Linked DNA regions of Homo sapiens: all the other regions are linked to region 5. The links are contacts of gene promoters, found by promoter capture Hi-C in blood cells and fetal thymus (Javierre and others, 2016). All regions are on one chromosome and are shown on one strand. The core of a region is centred on a gene start or on the middle of the fragment in contact, and the rest is flanking DNA. Distances in the headings are between cores, read along the strand shown.

The links. Contacts are between HindIII fragments. The CHiCAGO score rates a contact against its expected background, and 5 or more counts as called.
Region 1: a fragment that was not itself captured here is called in contact with the fragment with the promoter of RWDD2B in region 5 in 1 of 17 cell types (naive CD8 T cells); the score reaches 7.5 in naive CD8 T cells.
Region 2: a contact is called between a fragment that was not itself captured here and the fragment with the promoter of RWDD2B in region 5, in 2 of 17 cell types (non-activated CD4 T cells and total CD4 T cells). The highest score is 10.3, in non-activated CD4 T cells.
Region 3: a fragment that was not itself captured here is called in contact with the fragment with the promoter of RWDD2B in region 5 in 1 of 17 cell types (non-activated CD4 T cells); the score reaches 5.9 in non-activated CD4 T cells.
Region 4: a fragment that was not itself captured here is called in contact with the fragment with the promoter of RWDD2B in region 5 in 1 of 17 cell types (non-activated CD4 T cells); the score reaches 6.1 in non-activated CD4 T cells.
Region 6: a contact is called between a fragment that was not itself captured here and the fragment with the promoter of RWDD2B in region 5, in 1 of 17 cell types (non-activated CD4 T cells). The highest score is 5.5, in non-activated CD4 T cells.
Region 7: a fragment that was not itself captured here is called in contact with the fragment with the promoter of RWDD2B in region 5 in 1 of 17 cell types (fetal thymus); the score reaches 8.2 in fetal thymus.

The regions. Positions count from the first base shown.
Region 1 is chr21:31,649,162-31,652,423 of GRCh38, forward strand. No RefSeq gene overlaps it. Among named protein-coding and RNA genes, the nearest start is that of SOD1, 8.9 kb to the right of the region's middle. The HindIII fragment of the contact is 5,366 bases long and covers 1-3,262 here.
Region 2 is chr21:26,068,142-26,071,403 of GRCh38, forward strand. The region is part of intron 3 of APP (amyloid beta precursor protein); the gene reads right to left. Among named protein-coding and RNA genes, the nearest start is that of APP, 100 kb to the right of the region's middle. The HindIII fragment of the contact is 3,912 bases long and covers 1-3,262 here.
Region 3 is chr21:31,737,428-31,740,348 of GRCh38, forward strand. The region is part of intron 1 of LOC124905008 (a long non-coding RNA gene); the gene reads left to right. Among named protein-coding and RNA genes, the nearest start is that of SCAF4, 6.8 kb to the left of the region's middle. The HindIII fragment of the contact is 314 bases long and covers 1,104-1,417 here.
Region 4 is chr21:31,151,222-31,154,445 of GRCh38, forward strand. TIAM1 (TIAM Rac1 associated GEF 1) reads right to left here. Exons shown (of 28, transcript NM_001353694.2): 17 at 3,026-3,205; 18 at 1,845-1,913; 19 at 1,415-1,540. Among named protein-coding and RNA genes, the nearest start is that of KRTAP19-8, 110 kb to the left of the region's middle. The HindIII fragment of the contact is 264 bases long and covers 1,437-1,700 here.
Region 5 is chr21:29,018,024-29,020,891 of GRCh38, forward strand. RWDD2B (RWD domain containing 2B) reads right to left here and starts at 1,326. Exons shown (of 5, transcript NM_016940.3): 1 at 1,188-1,326. The coding sequence starts at 1,254. LOC124905005 (a long non-coding RNA gene) reads left to right here. Exons shown (of 2, transcript XR_007067836.1): 1 at 1-224; 2 at 890-2,868. RefSeq lists an enhancer at 1,167-1,416. The HindIII fragment of the contact is 4,408 bases long and covers 281-2,868 here.
Region 6 is chr21:31,171,979-31,174,944 of GRCh38, forward strand. All of the region lies in intron 15 of TIAM1 (TIAM Rac1 associated GEF 1), which reads right to left. Among named protein-coding and RNA genes, the nearest start is that of KRTAP19-8, 130 kb to the left of the region's middle. The HindIII fragment of the contact is 187 bases long and covers 1,173-1,359 here.
Region 7 is chr21:26,836,694-26,839,758 of GRCh38, forward strand. ADAMTS1 (ADAM metallopeptidase with thrombospondin type 1 motif 1) reads right to left here. Exons shown (of 9, transcript NM_006988.5): 7 at 2,894-3,065; 8 at 1,746-1,921; 9 at 1-1,585. The coding sequence ends at 886. Among named protein-coding and RNA genes, the nearest start is that of ADAMTS1, 7.2 kb to the right of the region's middle. The HindIII fragment of the contact is 1,646 bases long and covers 993-2,638 here.

The DNA.
Region 1 (3,262 bases), core at 363-2,862, 2.6 Mb after region 5:
AAATATGTAACACAGAAATCAGTGAAAGAGGGGCAGAGAAACAAAAATAGGAGACATATGGAAAACAAATAGCAGGTTGGGTATGGTGGCTCATGCCTGCAATGCTAGTATTTTGGGAGGCTGAGGTGAGAAGATTGCTTGAGCTCAGGAATTCAAGACCAGACTGGGCAACATAATGAGACCCCATCTCTATAAAATTATACAAAGAAAAATTAGTGGGGTGTAGTGGTGTTTGCCTGTAGTCCTAGCTACTTGGGAGGCTAAGATGGGAAGATCTCTTGAGCCCAGGAGTTCGAGGCTGCAGTGAGCTGTGATCACGTCACTGCACTTTAGCCTGGGCTATAGAATGAGACCCTGCTTCTAAAATAATAAAAAATAAAAAAAAAAAAGAAAAGTAAATTAAGCAACAACAAAAGAAAACAAATAGCAAATGGTAAATGTAAATCCAAACTTATTAATTACATTAAATGTGAATGGTCTAAACATTCCAATAAAAAACAAGATATTTGGATTGGATAAAAAAGGCAAAATCTAACTATAGGCAGTCTGCAAGAGTTACACCTTAGGTTCAAAGACACAAATAGGTGGAAAGTAAAAACATGGAAAAAGATATGCTATGAAAATAGTAGGCTGGACATGGCAGCACATGCATCTAAAATCCTAGCACTTTGGGAGGCCAAGGTGGGAGGACTGCTTGAGCTCAGGAGTTTAAGATCAACCTGGGCAATACAGCAAAACCCCATCTCTACAAAAAATACAAAAATTAGGGCCTGTTGGTACGTGCCTGTAGTCCCAGCTACTCAGAGACTGAGGTGCGAAGATCCTTGAGCCTCAGAGATCAAGGCTGCAGTGAGCCGTAATTGGGCCACTGCACTACAGCCTGGGTGACAGAGACAGAGTGAGACCGTGTCTCAAAAAAAAAAAAAAAAAAGTAACCATAAGAGAGTTGCAGTCATTAGTTATGTGGCTATCAGCTAACATAAACTTTAAGTCAAGAAATATTACTGGAGACAACGAGGAACATTTAGTAATGATAAAAGAGTCAATATGTCAGGAATGTACAAGTCATAAATATGTACATCGCTAATAAAGCCTCAAAAACATGAAACAAAACTGGCAGAATTAAAAGAGATATAAGAAGATATGGACAGTTCAACAACAATAGTTGAGGATATCAATATTCTATTCTAATTGATGAAAAAATTAGACAATAAATCAGCAAGGATATTAAAGAGTTAGAAAACATTATTAACCTATGTGACCTAATTGATATATGTCCAATGAGTCTCAACTCATTCAGTGAGAACAGTTAATAAAGACATTTTTATTACCAGAAAATAAAATTACAGAATAATATCCCTTAACAAAATATTAATACACCAAATTCTGCAACATATATAAAGGATTATATACTCTGAACAAGTGGGATTTATTATAGGAATTCAAGGTTGGTTAACGTCTGAAACTTGACCAGTGTAATATACTATACTGATAGAACAAAGGACAAAAACTACATGATCCTCTCAATAATAGATGCAGAAATACCTTCTAACAAAATCTAACACTCTTTCATGTTAAAAACTCTCAACAAACTAGGAATAGATGGGAACTTCCTCAACCTGGATAAAGTGCATCTATGAAACACCCACAGTTAACATCATACTTAACAGTAAAAGACTGAACATTTCCCTGAAATGTCAGGAACAATGCAAAATGTCAGTTCTTGCTACTTCTATTCAACACTGCCCTGGGGGTCCCAGACAGTGTTATAAGGCCATAAAGATGAAAAAAGACTGAAGTGGACATTTCATTAAAGAAGATATACAAATTGCTAATCAGCATTATGATAAGGTGCTCAACATCATTAGTCATTAGAAAAATGCAAATTACGGTTACAATGAAATACTACTATACGTTCATTAGAATGGCTGTAATCAAAAAAGAAAAACAATACCAAGTGTTGGTGAGGATGGGGAGAAAATGGAACCATCATACGTTGCTGATGGAAATGTAAAGTGATGTAGACACTTGGAAAAGCTAATTGGCAGTTTTTTAAAAAAGTTAAACAAAAGTTAAAAAACCAAAGAGAAATAAAACCATATGTGTTCAGAGGCATGAATGCCAGTGTTTACAGCAGCATTATTCATAATATTCAAGAACTGGAAATACTCCTGTATGCCTGTCTAAGGCTGTTGTAACAAACTACCATGCACACGGCTGGATGCGGTGGCTCATACCTGTAATCTCAGCACTTTGGGAAGCCGAGGAGGTGGATCACCTGAGGTCAGGAGATTGAGACCAGCCTGGCCATGATGGCAAAACCCTGTCTCTACTGAAAACACAAAAAATGAGCCGGGTGTAGTGGCAGGTACCTGTAATCCCAGCTACTTGGGAGGCTAAGGCAGGAGAATTGCTTGAACTCGGGAGGTGGAGGTTGCAGTGAGCCGAGATCGTGCCATTGCACTCCAGCCTGGCTGACAGAGAGAGACTCTGTCTCAGAAAAACAAACAAACCAGAAAAACAACTACCACAAACTGAGTGGCTTATATAACAGACATTGTCTCATAGTTCCAGAGGCTAGGAGAGATGAAGGTATCAGCAAGGCTGGTTCCTTCTGAGGCTGTGAAGAATCTGCTCCATGCCTCTCCCCTAGCTTTTTGGGGTTTGCTGACAATATCTGGTGTTCTTTGGCTTGTAGAAGCACCACACCTATCTCTGCCTTTATATTCACATGGGGGTGTTCTCCCTGTGTGCTTATGTCCAAATTTCCTCTTTTGTAAGGACACCAGTCATGCTGGACTTAGGGGTTCATCCTACTCCAGTATGACCTTATCTTAACTAATTACATCTGCAAAACCCCATTTCCAAACATGGTCACCTTCCAAGTTATTGGGGGTTAAAACTTCAGGGCTGGGCGTGGTGGCTCATGCCTGTAATCCCAGCAGTTTGGAAGGCCGAGGCAGGCGGATCACAAGGTCAGGAGATCGAGACCATCCTGGCTAACATGGTGAAACCCAGTCTCTATTAAAAATACAAAAAATTAGCCGGGCGTGGTGGCGGGCATCCCAGCTACTTGGGAGGCTGAGGCAGGAGAATGGCATGAACCTGGGAGGCAGAGCTTGCAGTGAGCCGAGATCGCGCCACTGCACTCCAGCCTGGGTGACAGAGCGAGACTCCGTCCAAAAAAATAAAACTTTAACATATGTATTTGGGGATGGGGCACAATTCAACCCATAATACATCCAAATGTCCCTCAGCTTAT
Region 2 (3,262 bases), core at 83-2,582, 2.9 Mb before region 5:
GTGCGAGGGAGGCTATAATCAAGACAGGAAGAGGCATTTTCACAGATAACTTCTTAACGGGGTTGTAGACTGTCACTCTCACGCCCCTCACTTGTTCTTTCCAACCTATTACCATCTGGCCTTGCTCCAACAATCTGCAACTCTTCTTTCAAGGTCAAGAACAACAAATGCCATCAGTCTCTTCTCAGCCCTCCAGTTCTCTGACTACTCTGCCACATTCTCTTTTTTTTTTTTTTTTTAAAGAGACGGGGATACCCTCTGTCAACCAGGCTGGAGTGCAGTGCTGTGATCATAGCTCACTGCAGCCTCCTGGGCTCAGACAACCTTCCTGTCTCAGCCTTCCAAGTAGCCGGGACTACCGGCACATGCCAACATGCCTGGCTAATTTTTTTTTTAATTATTTTTTGTAGAGACAGGGGTCTCGCCACGTTGCCCAAGCTGATCTCAAACTCCTGGCCTCAAGCAACTCTCCTAGCTTCAGCCTCCCAATTTGCTGGGATTCTAGGCATGGGCCACTGAACTTGGCCCACTTTTCTTCTTTAAATTCAATCTTCTCCAGTTTCCACCAATCTATCTCAAGCCAATCATTCTTTCCCTCTCATTGGCTCCTCTTTTCATAATTCTGATTATAAAGTAAGGCTCTGTCTTCTACTCTTCTTGCTTTCTCACTCAGACATATCATCCATGCCTAAGGGTCAACAGCCTCCTCCACTCTTTCAATTCTGACCTTTCACTTAGCATTCCCAGTCGCTTGCTGCATGCTTCCAATTGCAGGGTATTAATTACTTTTAGCAAATGTACTAGAATCAAGTGCCCAACTGATTATCAAATTCCGGAAGTGTACCCAAAGGACAATGACTAATTCCTCATTGGGTCAAAGTCTTTCCTATGTGGAAGCAAGAGAAAGGAACAGAACTAACACTGAACATTGTGAGGAGCCCAAAACATGACTCCTGCTGAACACATTCTATTTGGTTGTAGAACCCAACCAATATAGGCCCCGTTGATCGATTTCCCCACAACAAGAGGAGGTCATAAAAATCATGCTTCCACTTTCTCAATAGATACTTATCGCTCATGAATGTCTGTGAATCAGAAGACCATGGGACTATAACTCTACTCCACTCAAACTCTCCATACTCCCAAAGCTGGACCTCATGGTCCTCAGATCATGTAATACTCAGACACAGCACTCCAGTAAACCACTTTCTGGCCAGAAACTCATCCTTCCCATAGTTCCTCTCCCTTCCATCCACTACAGCTTGTTCATCATGATCCTGAGGTCCTGGATGCTGCAGCACTCTCTGCAGTTATCAGGGGAGGCTTCACTGCCTTCAGTTCATTTCCCTGCCAGCCTGGTCTAGGACCCTCAGCACACACACTCATCACTGCACATATCACCAACGACCACCCACATGCTTTTGATGCCCAGGCTCATTTGGTCCAGCCTATTTCTCTCCTAAGTGTGAGACTCAATAAATACACAACCACCCCACTGTGCTCTTCAAGAGCTTATTAACTGCCTCTTTTAGATTCTCCTGGGTATAGTCCAGACTTAAAATGCCTCACTTTGGGAGACAATGTAATTTAACCATTGGAGGAACAAATGTTGGTCTATATATTTCAGGCATTTTCCAAATAAAAACCTCCAAGAAAAAGCAAACTTGTATCTTAAAAGATGCAGAACTATTTAGGGCAAAAAGTACACAGAGAATGAGAAAGAAAAAAGATGTCACTGCATTTAACAAAAGAGTTAACAATATTGTTAACAATAACAAGAGTTAGCCATGAAGTAATTAGGATATAGTACTTGAAACTGGCACCACCTTTTACCAGGCATTACAATATTGCTATGAGTTCACAAAGCTCTGTTAGAGCAGAGGAAAAAGAAGGATTTGAATTCTGTCACTGTACTAGCAACACCACCTAGGGATGAGGAAGACAATATCTAATAGAATAACAAATAAAGTAAGTATACATGATTCATCAAGCTCTTCAATAAAAATGTATTTTAGAATTTATCAACATCCCTTTTGAATCATGTTTCAAAAATCACACAATCTGTTCAAACACGGATAGACCCCCAGATAAATCAGAATCTCTCTCTCTGTTACCACGCCTCTGTGGACTTAGAAATCACCACTTAGATTTGTAAACAAGGCTTAGTTTCATTATTGTAAATCAATTTGGCAGGACTTATCACTCCACAGAGAGCTGAAATAATTGAATTTCTGGACTTCTAAGGAAGAAGGTTTAAGTACATTAAGGCTTCCAAAAGGAAGATCACCAACTCTTCTTTAGCAGAAAATGCCCCTGGAGAATTTTGAACCATTTCTTGATCTAGTGGCAACTGGATGTTATCAGTGGCAACTAAGGTATCTGTCTACACCTGCTGAGGCTCACAAGTAAAAACTAAAAAGTACTGTGAATCTCTGTGATAATGGAGCGTAAAGCTACCACTTAAGTCTTTATTACTAGTAAGTAACGGATTTTAAGAAAAAAAGAGATACTCAAATCTATCTATAGATAACCAAAAAACCAAACAAAACACCCAGAAAAATCTAAGGTTGAAGAACATATATAATTTGAGACTTTTGAAACAAAACACCCAGAAAAATCTAAGGTTGAAGAACATGTATAATTTGAGACTTCTGATCAGAGCCTTCCTCAATAATGTAAGTTTAAAAACTATTACCAAAGTGACAAGATCCCATGTCAGATAGCAGAATGAGAACAAGGCTACTCTTCAACTTAGTCATCCTCTTTTATCACTACAACTTCAATCATAGATGTAAATGGAAATTTCTGCTTCCTTTGCTACTTTTCTGCTTGACTGAATTTTATAATGAAAAACGTCTGTTCCTTCCAGGCAGAGCACGAGTGTCATTCAAATTGTACACACCAGGCAAAGAGTGAATGCATTTGTTTAGATGCAAAAATCATTTAAATATGTGTCATTATAGGCTGCAGCACATTTGCGGATTCGGCAGTTTAAAATTCTCTTAAGCAATAAAGCAAGGCATCAAATGAAAGTGCACTCAGGCTTCAAACATCTTCAGACTATGTTTTCCTGTTTGCACACAGCGAGCCCCGCCTTCCTTTCCTGACCCCACTCAAACAGAAAGCAGTGGAACCATGCCCTAGCCCATCCTATTACCCCAAACGTCTTCCAGGTCAGCAATCCAAAGTCACGTGAAAGCTCCATCTTCAGTTTCCCTCTCCAGGGAGCAAATATTTTGAAGAGCAAGCATTCCAAGCAAGC
Region 3 (2,921 bases), core at 11-2,510, 2.7 Mb after region 5:
TCTGTTGCCCAGGCTGGAGTGCAGTGGGGTGATCTCGGCTCACTGCAACCTCCACCTCCTGGTTTCAAGCGATTCTCCTGCCTCAGCCTCCTGAGCAGCTGAGATTATAGGCATCCGCCATCGTGCCTGGCTGGTTTTTTTTTTTTTTTTTTGTATTTTTAGTAGAGATGCGGTTTTGCCATGTTGGTCAGGCTGGTCTCGAACTCCTGACCTCAGGTGATCCGCCCTCCTTGGCCTCTCAATGTACTGGGATTACAGGCATGAGCCACCACACCAGGCCAGTTTTATTGTCAGAAAGAGTAAGCTCCTTAAAAAAGTAAACATACAAGTAAGTATGCAGCAAACCTAAAATGTTCTGGATGTCATCTTAGCTATGATTGCAACAGTGAGCATATGAGTAACTAATAAAGGAAAACAATTTCTCTTCATCACTTCCTATCTTACTTAGGATTAGGAATCCAAGATTCTCTTTCCAAAATGGAAAGTATTAAAAACCAGTCTCATCTGAAGTGAAATGTCACCTTTTAGGACTAGGCCACGCCAGTCCAACATTTGCTGTTTCATTCATTCAGAAAATAAATGTGTACATCTCTTGTGGACAGGCACTGTGCTAGGTGTGTGGAATACTGTGATAAGCCCAAACACAGATAAGTTCCTTCCTCGAGGAACTATTCCTCCAGAGTCTGGCACCTTGCCCTGATGTTGAGTATTTTCCATGTGTATATTGGCCATATGTATACTTTCTTTTCCTTTTTTTTTTGAGATGGGGTCTTGCTCTGTCACCCAGGCTGGAGTGCAGTGGCTGGATCTCGGCTCACTGCAACCTCCGCCTCCCAGATTCCAGTGATTCTCCTGCCTCAGCCTCCCGAATAGCTGGGATTACAGGCACATGCCACCATGCCCACCTTATTTTTGTATTTTTAGTAGAGACAGAGTTTCACCATGTTGGCCAGGCTGGTCTTGAACTCCTGACCTTGTGATCCCCCCACCTCGGCCTCCCAAAGTGCTGGGATTACAGGCGTGAGCCACCGCACCCGGCCATGTATACTTTCTTTAGTAAAGTGTTCAAATCGTTTGCCCTTTAAAAAAACGGATCATTTGGAAGCTTCAATAGGAAGCTATTGAATGATATGAGTCCTTTGTCAGATATGTGTGTTGTAAACATTTCCTCACAGTCTGTGGCTTTCCTTTTCATTTTCTTTTGAAAAGCAGATGTTTTTAATTTTGATGGATATAATTTATACTTTTTTCTTTTATGGTTTGTGCTTTTCTGTCATATTGAAAAATTTTTGCTTATCCCCAGGATATGGAAATGTTCTCCTCTATTTTCTTCTTGACTCTTTATAGCTTAGCACTTTTGTTTAAGTCTGTGATCCATTTTGATTTAATATATGTGTATGAGATAAGATAAATATCAAGCTTCATTTTTTTACATTAGGATATCTAGTTGTTCCAGCACTATTTGTTGGAAAAAAAGATCATTTCCCCCATTGAATTACTTTGCCTCCTTTGTTGAAAATCAGTTGACCACATATGTGTGGATCTAGTTCCACGTATGTGTACTCTGTTCCTTTATATATATCTATATACTTTTCTTGCATATACATAGCCCACTGTCTTAATTTCTCTAGTAATTCAAGTAAATCAGTTAAAGTCTCCAACATAGTTCTTTTAAAAATTGTTTTCACTATGCTGTAATCTTTGCATTTCTATATAAATTTTTAAATCAACTTGTTAATTTCAAAAAAAAAAAAACACCCCACACAACTGAAAACAAGACAAAATAGGAAGTATGCTGGCTAGGCGTGGTGGCTCACGCCTGTAATCCCAGCACTCTGGGAGGCCGAGGTGGGCGGATCACGAGGTCAGGAGTTTGAGACCAGCCTGGCCAACGTGGTGAACCCCCGTCTCTATTAAAGATACAAAAAATTAGCTGGTCATGGTGGCGCTCGCCTGTGCACCTGTAATCCCAGCTACTTGGGAGGCTGGGGCAGGAGAATTGCTTGAACCTGGGAGGCAGAGGTTGCAGGGAGCCGAGATCACGCCATTGCACTCCAGCCTGGGCAACAGGGTGAGACTCCGTCTCAAAAAACAAAACAACAACAACAACAACAAAAATCACAAATGGGTGTTAATGTTGTCAGATACCATGGCTATATTCATTGGGATGATTATGTGATTTTGTCTATTCTATTATATTAATGAATTACTGTGATTGGTTTTTGAATGTGAAACCAACCTGGCATTCCTATAATAAAATCCACTTGGTTATGGGATATTACTTTTTTTATATGTTGCCGGGTTCAATTTGCAAAGATTCTGTCTGTCAAAATATTTCCTTCTATATTCATGAGTGGTATTGGTGGTCTCTGTTTTCCTTTTCTTGTAATGGTTTTGGTGTCGGGGTAGCTTGCTCTCATCAAATTATTTGATAAGTGCTTCTCTCCTTCCCTGTTATCTATTTTTTTTTTTTTTTTTTTTAGATAGCGTTTTGCTCTTGTCACCCGGCTGGAGGGCAGTGGTGCGATCTTGGCTCACTGCAACCTCCTGGGTTCAAGCGATTCTCCTGCCTCAGCCTCTCAAGTAGCTGGGATTACAGGCAGCTGCCACCATGCCCAGCTAATTTTTGTATTTTTACTAGAGATGGGGTTTCACCATGTTGGCCAGGCTGGTCTCGAACTCCTGACCTCAGGTGATCCACCTGCCTCGGCCTCCCAAAGTGCTGGGATTACAGGTGTGAACCACCACACCCGACCTCCTTCTCTATTTTCTAAAATAGCCTGTGTGGAATTGATATTATTTCTTTCTTAAGATTTGTTAGAATTCACCAATGAAGCCACTTGGGCCTAAAGTTTTGCTTATGAGAGGGTTTTATATTAATCAATTTTTAAAATTGATATAGTGTTCTTCAGGTCTTCTGT
Region 4 (3,224 bases), core at 319-2,818, 2.1 Mb after region 5:
TAAGAGAAATGAGAGCATATATCCATACTAAAACTTGTACACATATGTTCACAGCAGCTTTATTTGTAATTACCAAAAACTGGAAACAACCCAAATGCCCAAGAAAGGTGAATGGATAACAAAGTGTGGTCTATCCATTCAATGGAAGACAATGCAGCAATGAAAAGGGATGAGCTCTTGATACACACAGCAATATGGACGGATCTCAGTACAACTACGCTGAGTGGAAGCAGCCCCAGAAAAACGGGTACTTGGTATGGGATTCCACCAATATAAAATTCCAGAATGCAAACATATTTAACATAACAGGGAGCAGAGCATGGAGCAGGGGTAGAGTGGGAGGGCAGTAAGAGGCAGAAGAGAAAAACCACAAAAGGGCAGGACAAGACTTTCAGGAGAAATGATTATGTGCATTGTCCTGATTGTGACGATGGTTTCATAGGGGTGTGTGTGTGTGAATTCATCAAATTCCACACTAAGTATATGCAGCATATTCTACTGCACAATTATACCCCAATTAATCTGTTAAAGCACATGAGGGTGACACGTAAGCCAACACATGAAGCAATGTGCTTTGTTAATTGGAGGTGCAACACAGGAAATCTGCAATAAAAGAAAGCCAAGCAGGGGAGAGGAAATAAGCATCCTTGCTAAGGCACTAGTCATAAATCCTCATTAGGCTGCAAGGACACCGTGTGCTGGAAGATTGTCTTTCCCCTGGATAATGATAAGCATTTCCATTAAGCAAAGTTTCCCAGAACACGATAAATTAATTTGTTTACTGGGTAACCAGAAGTGCCTTTTTTTTTTTTTTTTTTTTTTTTTTGTAAGACGGAGCCTCGTTCTTGTCCCCCAGACTGGAGAGCAGTGCTGCAATCTCGGCTCACTGCAACCTCTGCATCTCAGGTTCAAGCGATTCTCCTGCCTCAGCCTCCTGAGTAGCTGGAATTACAGGTGCCCACCACCATGCCCAGCTAATTTTTATACTTTTTGTAGAGATGGGATTTTGCCACGTTGGCCAGGCTGGTCTCAAACTCCTGACCTCAGGTGATCTGCCCGCCTTGGCCTCCCAAAGTGCTGGGATTACAGGCGTGAGCCACCATGCCCAGCCAGGAGTGCCTATTCTAATTCACTGATAGCTAAAGCATTAAAGGCCCCCACATAAACCAAACAAAAGGTCAAGGTTGGTACTTCTTCTCACGTAAAAGCCAGCAGCTGCACCAGTTTAATGCAAATTGATGGCATTGGGCTTCCCTTAGCCAGACCAGCAAGACACACTCCATTCCCCTCCCTCTCAGACACCCTTAGGAACAGACCCCACTGTGGCCCTCCAATGAAGACATCAACACGATCAGGGGATTCAACTTGAGCCACACTATAGCCCTGACGCTGGAGGCAGCTTTGCACTATTTACCTTAAATTGATCAACCTTCTCAAGCTTTTCCAAATCAGGTACCAGTCTCACTCCATCTTCTAGAGTTTTAAGGAATTCTACTTGAAACTCTACCATTTCCGTTAAATTTCCAAAAAGCACGTCAAGCTAGAAATAAAACAGAATTTAATGCACCTCATATCTCATTAGTCTTCCTAAACGTTATTTATATCTGATTACAAGGTTTTTCTATCAATTCTTATCAATTAAGAGAATAATCCCACTACCAGAGAGCGGGGCAGTTTTTTACTCTTCATGAGCACACCAAAGCTTAGCAGGCAATAATTTCAGCTAGTTACAATTAAATAAATTTAAAATGTTTTCAGTGTTACGCATGTCCCCATTTTTCCTCTTTACCAACAAGTCAAACCACGGTATGATGGTCACAAAGTTGAAACCATTTCCAGCATACCTCATCCTGGGTGAGAAAAGTTTCTTTTTGAAGAGGCTTTAGGTATCTCTCCATAAGACAGTTTAAATCCTAAGAATTGAAAAGAGAACTCATTAGCTTATGTGTTTTATTTTTTATATACCCTAGAACTTAAAGTATAAAGCATATGTTAATGTCTATAAAAGGATCTAGAAGAGAACAAACAGATCCTGTCCCGAAGGCTAACGTTAGAGACTTTAGGTCGTTAAGGTCCATTTCATGCAGGAGTAAGCCAACCTTTTCTGTCAATATTTTAGGCTTCGAGGACTAAAATACGGTCTCCATTGCAACTTCTTCAACTGTAGCACCCAAGCAGGCATAGACAATATGTCAAGGAATGAGCGTGGCTGTGTTCTCATCAAACTTTATTTGCGAAAACAGGCAGCGAGCTGGATTTGACCTGAGAGCCGTCGTTTGCTAACCCCTGATTTAAAAGACTAAGATATAGATACTTAAACAGATCACCCTGCTTTCGCATAGGAAATGTGACCAGGTGTCAGAACAAGTGATAACACAAAGACAACAGACCTGGCAGTCTTCTGGCTAGATTCTAATTAGATTATGAAGATCATACCCTCAACTTTTAAAAAAATTAAATGTAGCTTTCTTATTAGGTCAACAACACATACATATATATATATATATAAATGAATTGCCGTGAAAATCACTAGGCTTCCTTAAAAATCACAAGAAGGCTGGGCGTGGTAGCTCTCACGCCTATAGTCCCAGTACTTTGGGAGGCCAAGGTGGGAGGATCGCTTGAGCCCATGAGTTCGAAACCAGCATGGGCAACATGGTGAAACCTCCTCTCTACAAAAAAAAACAGAAAACGGGGCTGGGCATGGTGGCATGCACCTGTGGTCCCAGCTACTCAGGAGGCTGAGGAGGGAGGATTACTTGAGCGCAGGAAGTAAAGGCTGCAGTGAGCTATGATCACACCACTGTACTCCAGCCTGGCCAACAGAGTGAGACTATCTTAAAAAAACAAAAAAAACAACTCAAAACAAGCTTTTAACATTCAGAGTATAGGCAAAATTCCAGGAGAAACCAAGACGCTCTTCATGAACACAGTTTAAATCAGCTGTTAATGAAAACCAGCAGACACACCAACTTCACTCCTTTACGAGGCAGAGGGAGGGCAGGGGGAGAAAAAAGAAACATACCTTCACGTAGGTGCGCTCCGTCTCCAGGAGCTCGCAGATCACCTTGCGCAGCTTATCTGCATCCGAGAGTTGTCTCATGGTCGCCAGCTGAGGCCCCGTGGAGTCCTGAGGAGATGGGCTCTGGTCAGAGGGGTTCATCTCATGCAAACTGCGGCAAAATGCGGCCACCTGTTCTGTACTCTTCGGAGCACAGGGGGGA
Region 5 (2,868 bases), core at 76-2,575:
CTTATGAAGATCCCCACACTTGCTGCTATGGAGAAAAGTGAAAGGAAAAGTGGGGTGACCAGATATAGACACCGCAATAACTAGGGAGAGATGATGGTGGCTTTGATAGGATTATAGTGGTCAAGTTGGTGAGCTTCAGGTTCTGGATACATGCAGAGAACAGAGGCAACAGGATTTACAGATGAATTACATGAGACACGGAAGAATGACTCCGGGGCTTTAAGGTACTGAAAGTATGGATCTGCCATTTATTTAGACGTTGATGGTCATGGGGAGCTGAAGCTTGGTTTTAGACACAAGTAATGAAGTGCCTACTAAGACACCTGTTAAATAGAGAGGTCTAGCAGGCAGTTAGATGTATAGTTTTGAAGTCTACGAGAGACTCAGCTAGATATATAATCTTGGGAGTCAACACTTATTTGGAACTATATATTTGTTTAAAGTCTCCCAGGGAGTGAGTAAAGTTGGGAGAGGGTGCTATTGAATTGGAGGTATCGAAGATGAAATGGGATTAGCAAAGAAGAACGGGACGGAGGGACTCTTGAACGGACAACTACGGGAGTGATGTCACAGGTCATTTATCTGCCAAATTATTTTCGCTTAAGAGATTTCAGTCCTTCCAAAAAACCCTCAAGATAATTTTATGATTCAAGATTTCAGCGAATGCTGTAAGATAATAGACTGTGGCCGGGCGCGATTGCTCACGCCTGTAATCCCAGCACTTTGGGAGGCAGAGGAAGGGGGACTGCTTGAGCCCAGGAGTTCAAGATCAGCCTGGGTAACATAGTAAGAGCTCGCCTTTATTATTTTTTTAAAAAATAAAATATATTTAAGAGAACGCAGACTGAAACTTGAGATTTCTGAGTGGAATAATATCTTTTCCTTGCAGATTTTTTTTTGAAGAACAGAGCAGGGTACCCCGCGACCCAAGCCAAGACGCTCTCAGGAAGAAAGCCCAGCACGCAGCCGCCCTCGCACCCTGATTGCCCCCGGGGCGAGGTCCCCGGCTGGAGCAGGGCTGCAGAAGCCGGGAAGCAACGCCGAGGACCGAGCCGACCGATGGGCGCATGCAGTGAGGGGAACCGGGGCCGCCATGCCGGGCACGTTCCCAAAGGGTTGCACTGGGCGCTGCAGCGTGGGAAACCCCCGTGGCGGTCACCACTGGCGCTAGCTGAGGCGAGACTCACCTTGAGCCGTGGCCCCCTCACTGCTGTAACCCGGGTTCCATGGCTGCATGGACAGCTCAATTTTCATCAGAAGGGAGCCTCAAAATTCTAGCATACTGCGACCCAAAACTTACAAACCGCCTCAGCTGGCGACCTACCGGAAAAAAAAAAAAAAAGCATGCGGCGCATGCGCGTCCAAGGCCGCGGACCGGAAGCTGGGGCTCGCCTGTTGGGAGCCGCGTCCGCCGGTGTTGGTGTCTGCACTTGGAAGGACGTAGGGAATGCGTTGTCCCTGCTAGGTACTTTTCAGTCGCAGAGTTCTCTTCTTCTTCTTTCTTTCTTCCTTTTTTTTTTTTTTGAGACGGAGTCTCGCTGTGTCTCTCAAGCTGGAGTGCAGTGGCGCGATCTCGGCTCACTGCAGCCTCCGCCTCCTGGGTTCAAGCGATTCTCCTGCCTCAGCCTCCCGAGTAGCTGGGATTACAGGCGCCCACCACCATGCCCAGATAATTTTTGTATTTTTCAGTAGAAATGGGGTTTCACCATGTTGGCCAGGCTGGTCTCGAACTCCTGACCTCAGGTGATCCACCGGCCTCGGCCTCCCACAGTGCTGGGATTACAGGCCTGAGCCACCGTGCCCGGCCGGAGTTTTTCTACTTAATACCTCTCCATGCCAACCCCGTTGTCATTTCCCAGCGGCCGCCTCTATAACGGGCACTTTTCAGGGACAAAGAATTGGTCCGTTAATGTTCCTCAAATTCGAACGCGCCTAGGAATAGTTCGGGGATCCTGTTGAAGTGCAGATCAGGATTCCGTAGGTAGGGGTGGGGTTCCAAATTCTACATTTCTAGTATCTTCCCACACGATGGTGATCCTCCTTGTCCCTGAATCATGGAGGAGGGCAATTAGGGAGATGTGAGCCTGGATGCATGGTGGCCTTGGCTATCTTAGGTGTTCTTGCCCATTAACCAAGCTGGGAGGAACCGTGTGAATGCATATCTATCCCTGTTAATAAAAGGGTAGTTTGAAGGAGATGCTGACAGGAGAATAATTAGAAATGTTTTTCTTCCCAATCCAACTATATGCAATACACTTTATAATATTCATTTTAGAAATGTCATAGATAAGATTTGTAAACATTGACATTTAGCAATACTAAATATCACTGCTAGGTCTCCCCTCCACTTTTTTTTTTTAAACAAAAATACGACAGTATGTATTGTAGGTCTTCATAAACTACGTCTTCTGCATAGTGTTTCATGAGCGTTTTTCAATGTCATAATTTATTTTTTCCTCCAACATTTATTATGAAAAAATTCAAGTGTAAAGCGAAGTCGAGAGAATTTTACAGTGGAGCAGACCTCAAGAGAAGGGGAAGGATGGATTTCCCCTCTATTTAGCAGTGTCTGAAGACATTTTGGGTTGTCACAACTGGAAGGATGGTATTGGCATGGGGTAGGTAGAGCACAGGGATGTTCCTCAACTTCCTACAATGAACAGGACATCCCCCGACAACAACAAATTTGCTGGTCCAAAATGTTGATAGTGTTGAGGTTGAAAAACACTGACCTGGAGAGTACAGAATTTTACTCTACCAGCTTTGTCACATACCTCATCAATCTATCTGTTTTCATACATTTAAAAGTAAACTGCAGACAGTACGCTTCTAAGTACCTCTAATGCACATCATTGGAGTTCAAATTAA
Region 6 (2,966 bases), core at 16-2,515, 2.2 Mb after region 5:
GAAGGTTAGCAGAACAACCAACCAGCTGAGTCTGGCCCAAACTGCTGAGCCACAGAACAGTGAGCAAGTAAAACAGTTGTTTCAGAGTGGTCTATTACGTGGTAGTAGATAACCAATAAGTGGTGAGGGGGAATTTCATGATACCAGAAAGCCAGAAAGCAGGAGGTGACAGTGGTACGCTTCAAGGAAGCTGAGGAGAGACACCAGCATGGCAGGAAGAGGGAATTCAAGTGGGAAAGGGCATTGTTCTCACTCCCATACTTGAGGGCCTTCTCTAAACACTCCCAGCTTAAGAAGTGTAGACAACAACATGGTCAAGTTTGTTTGTTTTTTTTTTAATCCCATACAAACAGAGTTTTGCAATTTCCTACTCTAGCTTCCCCTGTGCTACTCACAATAGTAGTAGGTGAGCGGCTTTCCCCTAATGACAGAAATTGGAGGAATTATCCTCTTTGTTCTGGACATTCCTGTCCCCACCTACTTACCAGGAAACAAAGCACGACAGCTCTGCTACCAATCAGAGAGAGAAGAAAGCTGAAGATAAGGCTCAGTCGTGGCTGGAGAAGCAGGATGCCCATCCACATCCCAGTACTGAGCACACTGCCAGGCATGCAGCAGGGGACCGGGGGAGAGGAAGAGGGCTCGGTCTAGAGAGACAAAGTCTCAGGGAATGAAGAAGCCCAGAGCAGGACTGTGGACTCTCTCAGACAGGGATCATAGGCCAAATCAAAAGCTGCTATAGAGCCCGGCGCAGTGGCTCACAACTGTAATCCCAAACTCTTGAGAGGTTAGAGCAGGAGATCACTTGAGTCCAGGAGTTCAAGGCTGCAGTGAACCATGATTGTGACACTGCACTCTAGCATGGGTGACAGAGAGAAACCCCAACTCTATTTGAAAGTAAGAAAAAAAAAAACTGCGGTAACCCTGTAAATAGAATTGATTGTTGTGAACAGGTAAAATCAATGCTTTGCCTTTTAAGTTACCTACAATAATATTTTTGTGACTGCAAAAACGTTTGCAATCAGTACCTCTGACGCACCATCAACAGGACAGACAACGAGGAGATTTGGGGAAGTACAAACATATTAGTGCAGTTTACATTGAGATTTACCTTTCATTTACCCAGATTACACACATCTACTTTGGTTTCATTCAAGTCCATGTGGGACTTAAGCTTAAGGAGGAAGAAAAAAAATTCTGGCCTCGTGAGATGTCTTAACAATGTGCTCTAAGCAGACCCTCCAATTCAAACATTGACAAAGAGAAACAATTACAACACGAAACTTTTAAAAGGTCTTTTTAATGCCTGAGTTTAAATCCCTGATGGAAAAAAAACGTTTGGGGGTGGGGGCAAAAGAAAGCTTAAACACTGTCAATAAAGATATTTAGCTGGAACTCAACTGTTAGGATATAATTTTATTTTGCGTTTCAGTCATTTTACTGTTATAAGATTTTAAGAATTCCATATAAATACCCATAATAACATCAGCATAAACACTCACCCCTCCAACAAAGCTAAAAAACAAAGCAAGAAAGAAAGAGAGAGCGAGAGAAAGAGAGAGAGAGAGAGAGAGAAAAGAAAAGAAAGAAAGAAAGGAATGTTACAATTTGAACTTGGTAGACAAATAATAACTCCTTTTTAATCAAATGTCACAAAATCTCAGTTTTTGTTTCCTATAAAGAGAAATTTAAAATTCCATTAAAACTGTAGATTTAAAATAGTAACTTCTTTTTAGTCAAATGTCACAAAATCTCAGTCTTTGTTTCCTATAGAAATTTAAAAATCCATAAAAACTTACTAATCCTGTTAGCTTGTTGTGAAAGTCAAATATACATTAACAATCTTTAAAAATATCAAAATAGAGCATCTCAGTCTCCGAAACATGTTTTTTCACACGCAGGATTTGACGGTGTCATCAGTCAAATCTCACTGGAAGTTACCCCGCCCCCGGCCATAGCAGGGCCCACGCAGGCAGGCCATGTGCTGTGTGACAAGAAGCACAGCAGGCCGACAGTTTACGAGGCGCGCGTGTCTCCAAATGTTATCGACAAACAAACAGAGGACCATGTGCTGCCGGGTATCTGTGAGACTTCAGAGAATCTGAAGCCCTGGACCATATTTGTTTGTGGGAAGAGAAATCTGTGCAGTTCCTCTTCCTTTGCCGCCCCTCCCTGCCGCCTGACTGTCTTCGGTTTTCAGAATCGAGCTCCAGGCCATCTCCATGGAACATCAGACCAAAATAGAACCTCACACTTCACGGGTACTGCACAGAGGCACGTCCTGCCCATGCAGACCAAGCGGCTGTCCGTGCTCAGCACTTGGCAATTCCTCTCTCTGAAGCAAGGTGCCTTCGACTTTCACGGCTATCACAGAGGCCTTTCCTGTTCAACAAACGCTGCTTAATCTACTTCCTGCAGGAGGGACACTGGTCTGGACTGCAGAGCACAAGCTTCCACTTGGCATCAGACAGACACGCCTGAGGTTTATCAAAGGATCTGACTCTGCAACTCCAGCGCTGGCCCTAATTGCCTTTAACATGCCATAGGCCTGCTGTTAGCCACACGCACTTGGCTTTCTCCAACACCACAGCAGGAATAACCATTTTTTGAACAAGAAGCAGCTCTTGGAACGCTGGAACTTTTATTATTTTTAAAATTGTTACCTTTTTTCTCTTTTTCTTTTTTTGAGAGAGAGTTTCGCTCTTGTTGTCCAGGCTAGAGCGCAGTGGTGCGATCCCGGCTCACTGCAACCTCCACCTCCCGGGTTCAAGCAATTCTCCTGCCTCAGCCTCCTGAGTAGCTGGGATTACAGGCACCTGCCACCACTCCCAGCTAATTTTGTGTACTTTTAGTAGAGACAGGGTTTCACTGTGTTGGCCAGGCTGGTCTTGAACTCCTGACTTCTGGTGATCCACCCTCAGCCTCCCAACGTGCTGGGATTACAGGCGTGAGCCATCGTGCCCAGC
Region 7 (3,065 bases), core at 566-3,065, 2.2 Mb before region 5:
TCCGGCGTTTCATCCTCCTTGTGTGATTGTACTGATTTTCATGAGACACAAGTTACTTCTTTACATCCATATTCCCAAAGCAGGGTTACATGGTAGGAAAGAAAGGAAGTTGGAGGTACTAAGCTCATTGTGTCTCCTCTAGCTTTTACCAGCATCTAATGCTTCACTGCTTTTTTTCCATTGTAGACTTTAATGCACTTGAATAAATACATGGAGTTGTTTTTTCCTCAAAATGAATTACACAAATAAAGACTGAGATGGTCCAAAAAAGGAAAGAGGAAGCCATTTGCGTTATTTCACGTTGCTGAGCCTTTCTCTCATGTTGAACAATCTGAAGTTTTAATTCTCGGTAGAAATAATGTATAAACATTCTCTGAAACCATAGCAGCCATAAACAGTGCTGGTCAAAGATCCTATTTGTACTCCTTTCTCCCCCCATTGTTAGTGAGGTAAAGTAAAACAGGTCTTAGTAAAATCTCACTTTTCTCCTACTTTTCATTTCCCAACCCCCATGATACTAAGTATTTGATAAGTACCAGGAAACAGGGGTTGTAATAGTTCTAACTTTTTTTGACAATTGCTTTGTTTTTTCTAAACTTGTAATAGATGTAACAAAAGAAATAATAATAATAATGCCCGGGGCTTTATTATGCTATATCACTGCTCAGAGGTTAATAATCCTCACTAACTATCCTATCAAATTTGCAACTGGCAGTTTACTCTGATGATTCAACTCCTTTTCTATCTACCCCCATAATCCCACCTTACTGATACACCTCACTGGTTACTGGCAAGATACGCTGGATCCCTCCAGCCTTCTTGCTTTCCCTGCACCAGCCCTTCCTCACTTTGCCTTGCCCTCAAAGCTAACACCACTTAAACCACTTAACTGCATTCTGCCATTGTGCAAAAGTCTATGAAATGTTTAGGTTTCTTTAAAGGATCACAGCTCTCATGAGATAACACCCCTCCATCATGGGACAGACACTTCAAGCTTCTTTTTTTGTAACCCTTCCCACAGGTCTTAGAACATGATGACCACTCCCCCAGCTGCCACTGGGGGCAGGGATGGTCTGCACAAGGTCTGGTGCTGGCTGGCTTCACTTCCTTTGCACACTCGGAAGCAGGCTGTCCATTAATGTCTCGGCATTCTACCAGTCTTCTCTGCCAACCCAATTCACATGACTTAGAACATTCGCCCCACTCTTCAATGACCCATGCTGAAAAAGTGGGGATAGCATTGAAAGATTCCTTCTTCTTCTTTACGAAGTAGGTGTATTTAATTTTAGGTCGAAGGGCATTGCCCACAGTAAGAACCTGGATGGTCAAGGGCTCTTTGAGAGGGCTAAAGCTGCGAATTCTTTCCAATGCCGCAGAGGAGCCGCTGTACCTCAAGACAACACCTTTGTACATAATGTCTTGCTCTAAGGTGGACAAAGTGTAGTCACCATTAAGAATATATGTGCCATCAGCAGCTTTGATGGCAAGAAAGCTGCCATTGTTCCTGGATCCCCTCTGGTTCCGCTGTTTCACTTCGATGTTGGTGGCTCCAGTTGGAATTGTGATGATATCATGATATCCAGGTCTGCAGGTGACAAAAACAGGCATAAATCTCTGATTCATTGGCTAATTAGATTATTTAGCTTAAAAACACATTAATCTTTTATGAGACATATTTTTTTCCCAGACCTGTTGAAAGGCCCATTTAAATTATAAGGTCTGCAAATAGGTGTTTTAAAACTTACTTTGCACTAGTAACTGATCCTGATATTTTTTTACAAGTAGATCCATTTCCCCCGCAAACACCACATTTATCAAACTTCTTTTTGGAGTCTATGATGCGATCACAACCAGCTTTTACACACTGTCCTTGCACACAGACAGAGGTGGAATCTGGGCTACATGGAGTACCATCTACAACCTGAAAAAAGGACACATGTCTAGTGTTACATACAAGCAAAGGAAGGAGATGCTGCAATGATAAGTGTAAACATTTTCTCTCTACTTTCCTGACCATGCTAATTAAACACAGTACCCTCTACACATTATGCATTTCATGCATTTACCCTTCACTTTGGCATATTTTTCAGTACTACGTATAGACATCTGAAGAAATTAGATATTTTTAAAAATTATTTATCTATTGACCTATGTCTCCTCCAGCTAAGGTCAATGAAAGTAGAGCTGTTTGTCACTTTGTTTACTGCTGTATCTTCAGAGCCTAGAATAATTAGTATCTGGCAAGAGTAAGTGCTTCAGAAATCACTTGCTGAATATTGAATCTGCAACTTGGGAATATTTTCATAGCCTATGGTGCTAATGACACACGATCATCTCAATCACATTAAATTCCATTTTCTGTCTCAGATCCAGATGTATTCCCTTAGCAAAACAGCAAAAGAAATGATGCTTTTCCTAGTTCAATATGTGTTTTCAAACATAAAAATAATCAATACTCAGACTACCACTTCTATTATTCTGTTTGCACCTGCTACTGCTAGTTACCCAGTAACAAGTATTTTGGACCATGCATAGACTATTTTCCAAAACTACTGGTTACTGTGTGAATATAAAATGTATCTAACTATGAGCTGTATGTGAAGCCTAGTCGCACAGAGGAGCGCTTGACTGTCCAAAAAGCTTTTCTTTGCATATAAAAGAGTAATAGCGAGCAATTGCAAGCATGTGAAGTGTTAGATTTAAGCTTCATTCATAACTGAAAACACTAAACTCAAAGCAGGCAGTTGCCAATTAATGTAAAAGAAAAGGAGTTCAAATTTGAAATTGAAGATATGTTAATATGGAAAGCAAAGAAAGTATAACAAAAATTGTTTGAAAAGGTAGCAAGCCCAGGCCTTGATTTTTAGGTAAAAATAAGGTAAAAACGAACTACCTTGGGCTGCAAAACGAAGAAGTAGCCAATGCCTTTGGCTTGGCAGATGAGCTTGCACCTGTCCTTTGGTGAGACGCCAGCGTACTTGGGAATCCATTCCACCGCAGGCCCACTCCCAAAGGAAGCTTTTGAAAACTCGTTGTGTGCTTCACATTGTTCCTCTCTAAAGGTT